Regions from separate parts of the Homo sapiens genome. Here region 2 is linked to region 1. The links are contacts of gene promoters, found by promoter capture Hi-C in blood cells and fetal thymus (Javierre and others, 2016). All regions are on one chromosome and are shown on one strand. The core of a region is centred on a gene start or on the middle of the fragment in contact, and the rest is flanking DNA. Distances in the headings are between cores, read along the strand shown. Region 1 holds the start of BOD1L1 (biorientation of chromosomes in cell division 1 like 1). Region 2 overlaps WDR1 (WD repeat domain 1).

Region 1 (4,690 bases), core at 1,615-4,114:
TAAGACTTTTTGACAGAAAGCAGGTCAGTCTTTGAGGTTCAAGTGGCAGATGAAACTCAAGGATTCCATTAAAGTGATGGTTCTTTGCATGAACAGGGAATCTTCTACTTTGGCCCACGGTGGCCAGGCATGAGCCACCGGGCCTGGCCATACTGTTGCTTTTTAAAGTTCCTGCATCTGTGGCTGAATATGTCTTATTACTAGAAGAAGGGTTGATCATCAATTCTATTCCTATTTCTAATTTTTATAGTCATGCGCCCTGAGAAACCTTGTTCATATAAACAAGTACTGTGCCTCGGAATGGAAGAGTTTTGTTGTAACAATATCATTCAATTCTTGACCTCAAAAAAGAGGCTAAGAACATTAAAATAGGTTCTTATTCCATGGTTCCTGAACTCACTGAAACTGTATATGTTATTAGATTGATTCTCATGAAATTGCCTATAGTTGACCATTCTGAAGTAGAAAAACAGCGTTTTAATGTGTTACTTGCGCATTTTTCTTGAGAGAAGGTCCTAACTTTCATTAGATGATCAGAGATACTGTGCTTCCCTCCTTCCCTCCAAAAAAGGTTTTAATCCTTTACTTTGAAGGGTCTGGCAGGGATATTATAGACACATACCAATAACATTTTGTGGGAATAGGATAATAAAAAAGTTGAGCCTCAGACATTGCAGCAGTACATTACAATTTTTAATTTGTATACATAATGATTCATGGGTTTCTGAGAACACACAGATTCATGGGTTTCTGAGAACAGCAAAGTAAAAATTCCACTTGTTGAATACGAATAACTAACTTTATTTGATAACATTTACCTGGCCATGTCTAACCTTTTCCCATTAAATAACAACAAAAATAATAAAGGCAATAGAAATTATTTCTAAAAGGTAGCAGTGCATATTCCTGAAGACAAAAGTAAAAAAAACTATACTTCCTAAATAGATGAACACTCCCAAGTGAATTGAATTCTCTGTGGTGCAAAACCTCCAATATCCCGAAAAACCACGTTTTACATAGTGGGCCCAGTATGAGTCCTTATAAAGGAAGATGTACCAGGATATTCAAGAGTTTCCCCAGAAGACATAGTGGAACTGTGTGCAGTTCACCTGAAAGCTTTAGAAGAAACTGTGGATGTTGTAAACATGCATTTCTCAAAGATACAAAGCTCCTCAGAACAACTAAACATACTATGAGAAAACCCTCGACCGGGCGCGGTGGCTCATGCCTACTGGGCGAATCACGAGGTCAGGAGATCGAGACCATCCTGGCCAACACGGTGAAACCTTGTGTCTACTAAAAATACAAAAATTAGCAGGGCGTGGTGGCACGCGCTTGTAATCCCAGCTACTTGGGAGGCTGAGACAGGAGAGTCGCTTGAACCCGGGAGGCGGAGGTTGCAGTGAGCCGAGATCACGCCATTGCATTCCAGCCTGGCGACAGGGCGAGACTCTGTCTCAAAAAAAAAAAAAAAAAAAAAAAAGGAAACCCTCATTTCATCAAAACTCCAATCCAATGGACCCAACCAGATTTAACAAGCAGACAAAAACAACCCCTACAAACCAGTTAATTTTCCAACATGCTTTCTGCTTCCAGAATTCTAGACTGTACTGTGGTTTTCCATCCATCTCACTGACTGCTCTTTCCTGGTGTCTTTGGCTAATTCTTTGCCAATCCAGCTAAGTTTACTTGTTCCTGCTAATGTCCCTTTCACTCTGACATTTGGTACAAAATCCCTTCCCCTTTCCAGCCTCTCTTTCTGGACAGGGAACCTTGTTGCTGTCCTTTCCCTTCTCTACATTACTCTCCTGAATCTGCTCTCTTTCCTGTCCTTTCTCCACTTCAGTATCTGCTGTCACCTCTCCTGCATCTTTTCTCCACTGAATGACTCGGTTCTCTCTACCCCACCTTCCTGTCCCTTCTTACCTTAGAATGGTGACATGGCCTAAGTTACCTAAATCAGGCAATCACTGCTAGAAACAATACTAAAGTCCTGTCTCAGGTTTGCCTCCTTATCTTTGCGCTCCCACCCCCACGATGTCCAGCAAAGCATATTACACATAACTTGATTCAATTACCATTTAGTCATTTCTCCAAAGGATAAAGGCCCTTACCGCCCAGAAACCTTCAAGAAAGAAGGCAAACATAACTTCGATACAAAGTAAAATCATCAGATATGAGAATGAATACAAAACTGGCTACTGTTAGCGCCACTGTTTCCAAACCAGTTCCTGTAAGAACAATGCCTTAGTCTTGCTCATCAGACCGGGGTAATCACTGTGCCGAAACCATGACTGGCACGTAGTAGGTACTTAAACACTAGTCGGTAAAACGAACCAAAGGACACGCTAAGGAATGAACACTCTGTGCTTTGCACAGTCCGTGGCACACAGCTGCAGCTCCAAGAGGAAGCCACTGCAAAAGAAGCGCGCCCTTGGGTCCTCCCCTTCCCTCGCAGACCCCCAAACCCGGCGCGCTCCTAACCTTGGTGTCCACGTCGGCCAGGCAGTCTCTGCGGAACTGGTCGAAGAGCCCCTGGCTCTTGAGGTGGTTCACGATCATGGCCACGAGCTGCGGGTCCCCGGCGCCCGCACCCGCGCCGCCCGCCCCGCCCGCGCCGGGGCCAGCCCCGGGGCCCGGCGGCGGCGGCGGTGGCTGCGGCTGCGGCTGCGGCGGGGGAGGCGGCGGCGCCGGAGGAGGCGGCTGCGGCTGTGGGTTGGTGGCCATGGTGGCCTGTGCCGGGGAGGGCAAGGGCCCTGACCGGCGGACGATCCTGGGAGGCGGCGGCTGCACTGGTCCCGCCGCCTGAGGGAAGCCAACGGGATGTTGTTACGGAACCAGCGGATCCAGAGCAACCCCGGAAGTGAAAGGGAACTGGGGGAAAGGAGGAAAAGACGGTGACAACATTGACGAAAGTCCGGCGACGGAGGCCGCGAAGAGCCAGTTTCGACCGTCGCCGGGCGCAAGCGCCCTCGCGAGGCCGAGCTGCGCCGGAAGTGGCGGCGACTGTGGCGACGGAGACGACAAGACTGTGCTGGTCGCGGGTTGTGGGGTTTAGGTCACCGGCAGGGGTCTGGAGTCCCTGGAGGTTAGGGCTTCGACCCGCGCGACACCTGGGGCCCTAGGTCTGAGCGGGGGCAGTGCGTTTCTGGCCCCGCTTCATCCGCGACGGCATTTTAGGCCTGCCTCTCTTGCTCCAGTTTCCCGGAGCAGTGCATAGAGATCCATAGACATTTGTAATGCGAACCCTACGTGGATCTGCTCATTCTAACTTCGCCCAACCCTCTTCGTTCTTAGCCTGTGATCCTGCACTATTCTTGTCCCAGCAGGTAGCTCCAAGTTCCTTCTGTCTCTCTTCTGCCTGCACATACCATTTCCCCGTGGGGGTCCCTTGTTTCTGGCAGTGTGCCTGTGGATTAGATCCGATCCCTCCAGCCCGTTCTTCCTATCTGTGAAGACAAATCGACAGGCTTTTATTTTTAGGAGATTTGCTATTGATTACTATGATTATAGCAGGTAAAACATCTATAGCACATATTATGTACCAAGCGTGGCGTTAAGTGCTTTTACATGTATTAACGCATTTAATCTTTGGACAAACACTAAGAGCTAGGTCTGATTACTGTCCCCAGTTTGCAAATCAGGGAACCAAGGCTCAGATAAATTAAGTATGTTGAGTAAGATTACACAGCTAGCAAATCACCTGCTTTTGGACTGCATCATCTTTGAAATTATTATTAGTACGTGGTCAAAGCAACATAAATATTAGAAAATTTCATAATTACTAAATAGTGTGTGTAACTTTATTGAAAAATGCATATTGTTGCTTTTTAAAGTTCCTACATCTGTGGCTGAATATATCTTATTAGTAGGAAAAGAAGGGTTGAGCATCAATTCTATTCCTATTTGTAATTTTTATAGCTGTGTGCCCTGAGAAACCTTGTTCATATAAACAAGTACTGTGCCTAGGAATGGAAGAGTTTTGTTGTAGCAATATCATTCAATTCTTGACCTCAAAAAATTAGATTTGATTATCTATGAGCTGACTTCAATTAGGCCCTCCTTCTATTTTATGGAAAGCAAAGAGCTGAAAACCACCTGGCTTGCCAAAGGATTTGTTTACTTAATCCTTATTTTTTCACTCTTTCAGATTCTGGGAAATATACCAGATAGGTTTTACCAAGATACCAAATGACTATGAATTAGACCTGATTTTTTCAATGAGGTGTACCTTTCACCTGATATACTGAAAGTTTGGAGAATATCTAAACATTTTTCATTTTCATAAATAGTTTTGGATAAGATTTATTTTTGTTATCAGGTGGTTAAATTATGTTTTTGTCAAAATTTGCAACTGCAGATTTAGCTCATTCAAGTTCAAAATCTTTGTCACTGGGCACAGTGTCTCACGCCTGTAATCCTAGCACTTTGGGAGGCTGAGGCGGGAGGATCGGTTGAGTCCAGAGTTCAAGACCAGCCTGGGCAACATGGCAAGACCCCACCTCTACAAAAAAATAAAAGAAATTAGGCGGTGTAGTGGCGTGCACCTGTAGTCCTACCTACTTGGGAGGATTAGGTGGGAGGATCACCCGAGCCCAAGAAGTCAAGTCTGCAGTGAGCCATGATGGGGCCAGTACACTCCAGGTTGAGCAACAGAGTGAGACCCTTCTCAAAAACAAGAAAAAAAAAG
Region 2 (4,690 bases), core at 982-3,481, 3.5 Mb before region 1:
CTCCTTAGTCTATGACTGTACAACAAGGTGATTTTTTTCCTTTTCTGCTTTTCTGTACTTTCCATAATACAGAACAAATATATCAGTGAAACAGATACACAAAAGGTGGATTAGAGCAAGAAGCCCTGGTTCTAATCCCTCCCATTTGTGGGAAGCTGCATTCATTCCAGCGCTCTGTTCTCTTCCGTGTTTAGGACCAGCTCTCCTGGCTGCCAATCAATGTTGGACCCCAAACTCAGCGCCTGGCTGTGCTGTGCAGGAGCAGAGCAGGACACGCTGTGGGAGCCCTCTCTATCAAAAACTTGGGTTTGGAAAGGAAAGTCGATTCCCCACTCCCTTGCATAGCACAGATCAAAGGCTGGGTGGACTTTGTGGCAAAAATGGGGCCAACATTTGAGACTAGAAGCATCTTCAGCAATGAGGTTTCAACATGTAATGTGCTAAAAGTAGATCCCTGCGCCTCCCTCCCGGCATACACACACACGCAGGGCCTCAGTGAAACAGAAACACACACACACACTGGGCTGCTCTCAATCTGTCTCCACAGTGAAGCTTTCTTTCAGGAGGGAATAAAGACATGGCCATCTAATCTCTGCTACCTACTGTCAGCTTTTTACAAACCAAGTGCTCTTTGAAAGAGGCAGCTTCCCGCCAGCTTGAGGCTTAGGACACACCAGACTCCTGTGAGGGTGCCCGGGCACCCCTAGCATGACCCCACCTGCTGCCACCCCACCCCTCATCTCCCTTAGACCCCTCCTCAAGACCTGAGGGGCCCCCATCTCACGAGACTGAGACCACAGAAGTACAGACCCTGATTCCTGCCCACCTTCTGCCATCCTGTTTAAGCTCCACGTCTGTGTGTAGTCTGTGCCCTTGGCCAGCACCTCTCCCTGCCTACGGACACCCACTCACCCATCAGGCCTAACGGAAGCGTTCCCTCCTCCATGAAGCCTCCAAGTATGGCCCAAGCTATCCGTATCAACTCTTCTGTGCTTCCAGATCATTTAACATGTCCACCGGGATGGCACAACACACATCATAGTCCCTAGCATTCCTGTCCATCTCCTCCAACTCTGCTGTGCCCTGCTTAACATGACCTTTATCTCACTAGCCATCTCAATAAGTGGTTTGGGGGAGAAAAAAAGAAGTACACACAGACCTTCTCTTTCATCCCTAAGACTTAACACAGCATTATGTGATATAATAGACACCAGTCATAAATTAATCCATTTTGGGATAATCGTTCGCCAGTGAAATTAGAATGTATCAAGGTGTCTATCCAAAGAAGATACTACGAATGACAAGTAAGCACATGAAAAAGCGCTCAGTGTCATTAGTCTTGGGAAATGCAAGTCAAAACTACAACAGAATACCACTCCATACTCACTAGAATCAATAAAAAGAAAAGACTGACATCACCAAGTGCTGGCAAGGGTAGAGGGGTGGGGACACTGGAATGTTCACACTGCTGGTGGAAATGCAAAATGGTACAGTTGGAAAAGAGTTGGGCAGGTTATTTATAAACCTAAACAGACACTACTCACACCAAACACCAGCAACCCCACTCCTAGGTATCTGCCCTGGAGAAATGGAAGCATGTGTCCACCAAAAGACACAGGAGCAATGTTCACAGAAGCTTTCTTTGCAATGGCCAAAAACTGGAAATACCCAAATATCCATCAACAGGTGAACAGAGAAACAGGCAACACACCGCACTGCTTAGTGATAGAAAGGAACAAAGTGCAAATGCACTCAACACCAGCTATCAATCGCCAACATGTTATGCAAAGTGAAAAAGCCAGACAGAAAAGACTACACATTGCCTCTCACTTCATATGAAAGAAGATTTTAGAAAAGGCAACCCCAATGACAGAAAGCAGATAAGCAGCTGCTGGGGGTGAGGGTGGAAGGGGTGGCGGGGGCGGGGGGCACCCTCCGGAGTGACAGGAATGTTCTGTCATGACAGGGGTGGTGCTTATGGGACTATATAGGTCATCTGTCAAGATCCAAGCCACACACTGAATACAGACAAATTCTACTGTATCTAAAGTACACCTCAATAAAACTAAGATGCTGGCTATTTATTAAATGTCTGCCCAATCCAACCCTCTCCCACTCCAATTAGTCCTTCATATTCTGACACTGACACATCCCTACCCAAAGCACCTGGCAAGAAAATGATCCACTTAACAGGCAGCCCCTCCAAGACCCTGTTCGGTGTACACTCACAGCTGACTGGGGATGGGGGAGGTCTCACGCTCACATACAGGGGCACCTGCCCATCCCGCCAGACAGATGGCCTCGTGGGCTCTCCCAGCCTGGACGACCTCCTCCCCAGGCCGTGCTGCCGTAGAAAGGGTGGGGCTCCCATGGGCCTTCCGCTGGGGAGGGCATCCAGAGATGGAAGATGCCTGGGCAGGGGCATGAGAGGAAGTTCTGCCCCTAAAAATTCCTTCCCCTAAATGGTCAGGGCTGTGTGTAAAAACCCCAAAGGGCAACAGAATCCTGCCAGCTGATGAATCACTCACTCTCGTTTGTATTCTAAATACAACTGGGTCAGCGGTGGGGGCTGAGATACTCCAAACTGCAGATAATGACTTACATCTGAGTCAGAGCAGCCTCCTCCCCAGCTCCTCAGCTCGCAGAGGGAGGCTGCTTACTACACCCAGAAAGATACCTCACACCCCCACGTGTCACTCGGCCTGTGAGGCTCTGTCCCCATCAGCTGGGTCGAGATGGCACCTTGACACCCTCAGTGTGCCCCTCTCCCCCCAGCCTCCTCCCCCTCCTTCCATCTTGGGGAAGAAGAATGAGATTGGGGGTTGAGAAGCTTATTTGGGGAAAAACTCTGGAATGGGGAAAACGAGACAGGGAGGGCAGGAAGCCAATTCCAGGAGCCCCAGTGCTACTGTAGGCAAAAGTTCTGTCTCCCCATCTCCCTGGGGGCCTGGGGGAGACCACCATGAGCAGCCTTGGAGTTGCCCACTCAGGGACACCCCTCCTCCCAGGCTTTCTTCTCATGCTGCTGCAGGCTGGGCCAGCTCTGGCAGTGGGAGGCTGCCGTTCAGTCCTCACCACAGGCCTGCCCAGTTTTCCTTGCCAACTCCCAACCCATCTTCTCTTTTACCTCCACCATTTTCAATGCAGTCCTCCTGTTCTTCCTGGGAAGAGCGATAACTGCTTTGGAATGCATCTCCACCCTCCACCAAGCCGGTAGTCTTCAAATCCCGACCCTGATTACCTCACGGTCCGGCTTGCAACCCACCCTTCCTGAGCTCCCTCCAGGCTTCAGCCCACTCGTCGCTACCCTGCTGCCGCCCTGACGTTGCCAGCCACTCCTTGGGCTGACTACCCCAACCCATGGCCCCTCACCCCAACCCTTGAGGATAGAACAGGTGCAGCCCCTCTACCTTGCTGGCCCCAGACCCCTTCCCCAGTGGCCTCCACACCTGGGGGCTAGGGCCTGTGAGGGCCAGAGCTGGGGCTGGGATAAGACCTCGAGACAAGCCCCAGAATTCTGCCACCACCCCTGGAGGAGTCCGGGGGCCTCTGAGGACATGAAGGACACCAGCCAGCAATCAAGGAGTCACACACGCGAGCAGACCCAGGACCCACGGACTTCGGCAAGTGACAGCATGTAACAGCACCCAGCCCTGCCAACACAGGGCCTGGTTCAAGGCCCAGTGGTGCCCATTTGAAGCAGAAGCTTTGGACTTGACCCGGGAGGCCATTCTACTCTGTCACACTATGCTCAGGTCCCACCAGCCCCCACCTCCCACCTGTGCACTGAGGCATCCTGCCCAGGAATAGCTGGTCTTTTTCTGAGAATCCTGTTGAATGGCAAACCTAAACATACTCCCCCCCGGCACCTGTACAATGTCTGTGCCGCCTTTGAGACTCGCTATAATACACAGGTCATGCAAACAAGCACACAGAAGCGACATTTCCGTAACTCTGTTATGCCCCAGGCAGCAACATTTACAATTAGTGAGCCCTGAGCCCCTCAAAGCTCTCTTACTTTCCTATGTCCTCCCAGTCTCAGGTGGGTGACGGAGGGGCCAGAGGTCACTACTCCAATTTACAGGTAGGCTGTGATGACCCTGGGTCCTGGGGCTTGGGTCTCAAGGCTTGCCACTGGTATCTCAGCTCCTGGCCCACAGTGAACCTGATGGAACATGCTAGAAGGTTGGAGATACCTGCCCAAGCAAAAAACATTTCAGCAGATGACGACACAACACTGATGAAGGGGCCTGCTGTGCCCTCCTTTAGCTGCCAACTGTCCCCGGGAACCCCAGAGAAAGTCTCAGGCGTCCTCCATGGTCCACCCAGGCCAAGTGAGCGTGAGCTTCCAGTCAGGGCACTGGCTTTGTAAATACTCCAAGTTCCTGCAAGCAACAGAGGCTGAAAGCTGTTACTGCTGTAACTGACCTGTGCAAATATAACTGGCCAGGGCCCTTATGTTCACTGGTGACTACAACTAAGGCCAAGGCTGAATGACAGCAAAAAACCTCAGCTCCAAAGCAGGAATGTAAACTTCTGCGACAACACAACGCCTTCTCCTAATTATCTTTTAAGGCCCAGGCAAAGGGCTTCTCCTCCAAGCAGCCTTCCCTGATGCTCCAAGCTAGAAATCATCTCTCCCACCCTGAACCCCCACCTTCCCTGACTCCCACCCCACTGCCCTCACTAC

What was found. Contacts are between HindIII fragments. The CHiCAGO score rates a contact against its expected background, and 5 or more counts as called.
Region 2: a contact is called between a fragment that was not itself captured here and the fragment with the promoter of BOD1L1 in region 1, in 1 of 17 cell types (neutrophils). The highest score is 7.1, in neutrophils.

What each region holds. Positions count from the first base shown.
Region 1 is chr4:13,624,861-13,629,550 of GRCh38, forward strand. It overlaps BOD1L1 (biorientation of chromosomes in cell division 1 like 1), which reads right to left and starts at 2,865. Exons shown (of 26, transcript NM_148894.3): 1 at 2,485-2,865. The coding sequence starts at 2,727. MIR5091 (microRNA 5091) reads left to right here and starts at 3,005; the gene lies at 3,005-3,097. RefSeq lists enhancers at 2,294-3,024, 2,862-3,021, 3,025-3,755 and a silencer at 2,522-2,721. The HindIII fragment of the contact is 7,220 bases long and covers 1,115-4,690 here.
Region 2 is chr4:10,104,200-10,108,889 of GRCh38, forward strand. The region is part of intron 2 of WDR1 (WD repeat domain 1); the gene reads right to left. Among named protein-coding and RNA genes, the nearest start is that of WDR1, 10 kb to the right of the region's middle. RefSeq lists a silencer at 2,608-2,657 and an enhancer at 3,268-3,999. The HindIII fragment of the contact is 1,194 bases long and covers 1,635-2,828 here.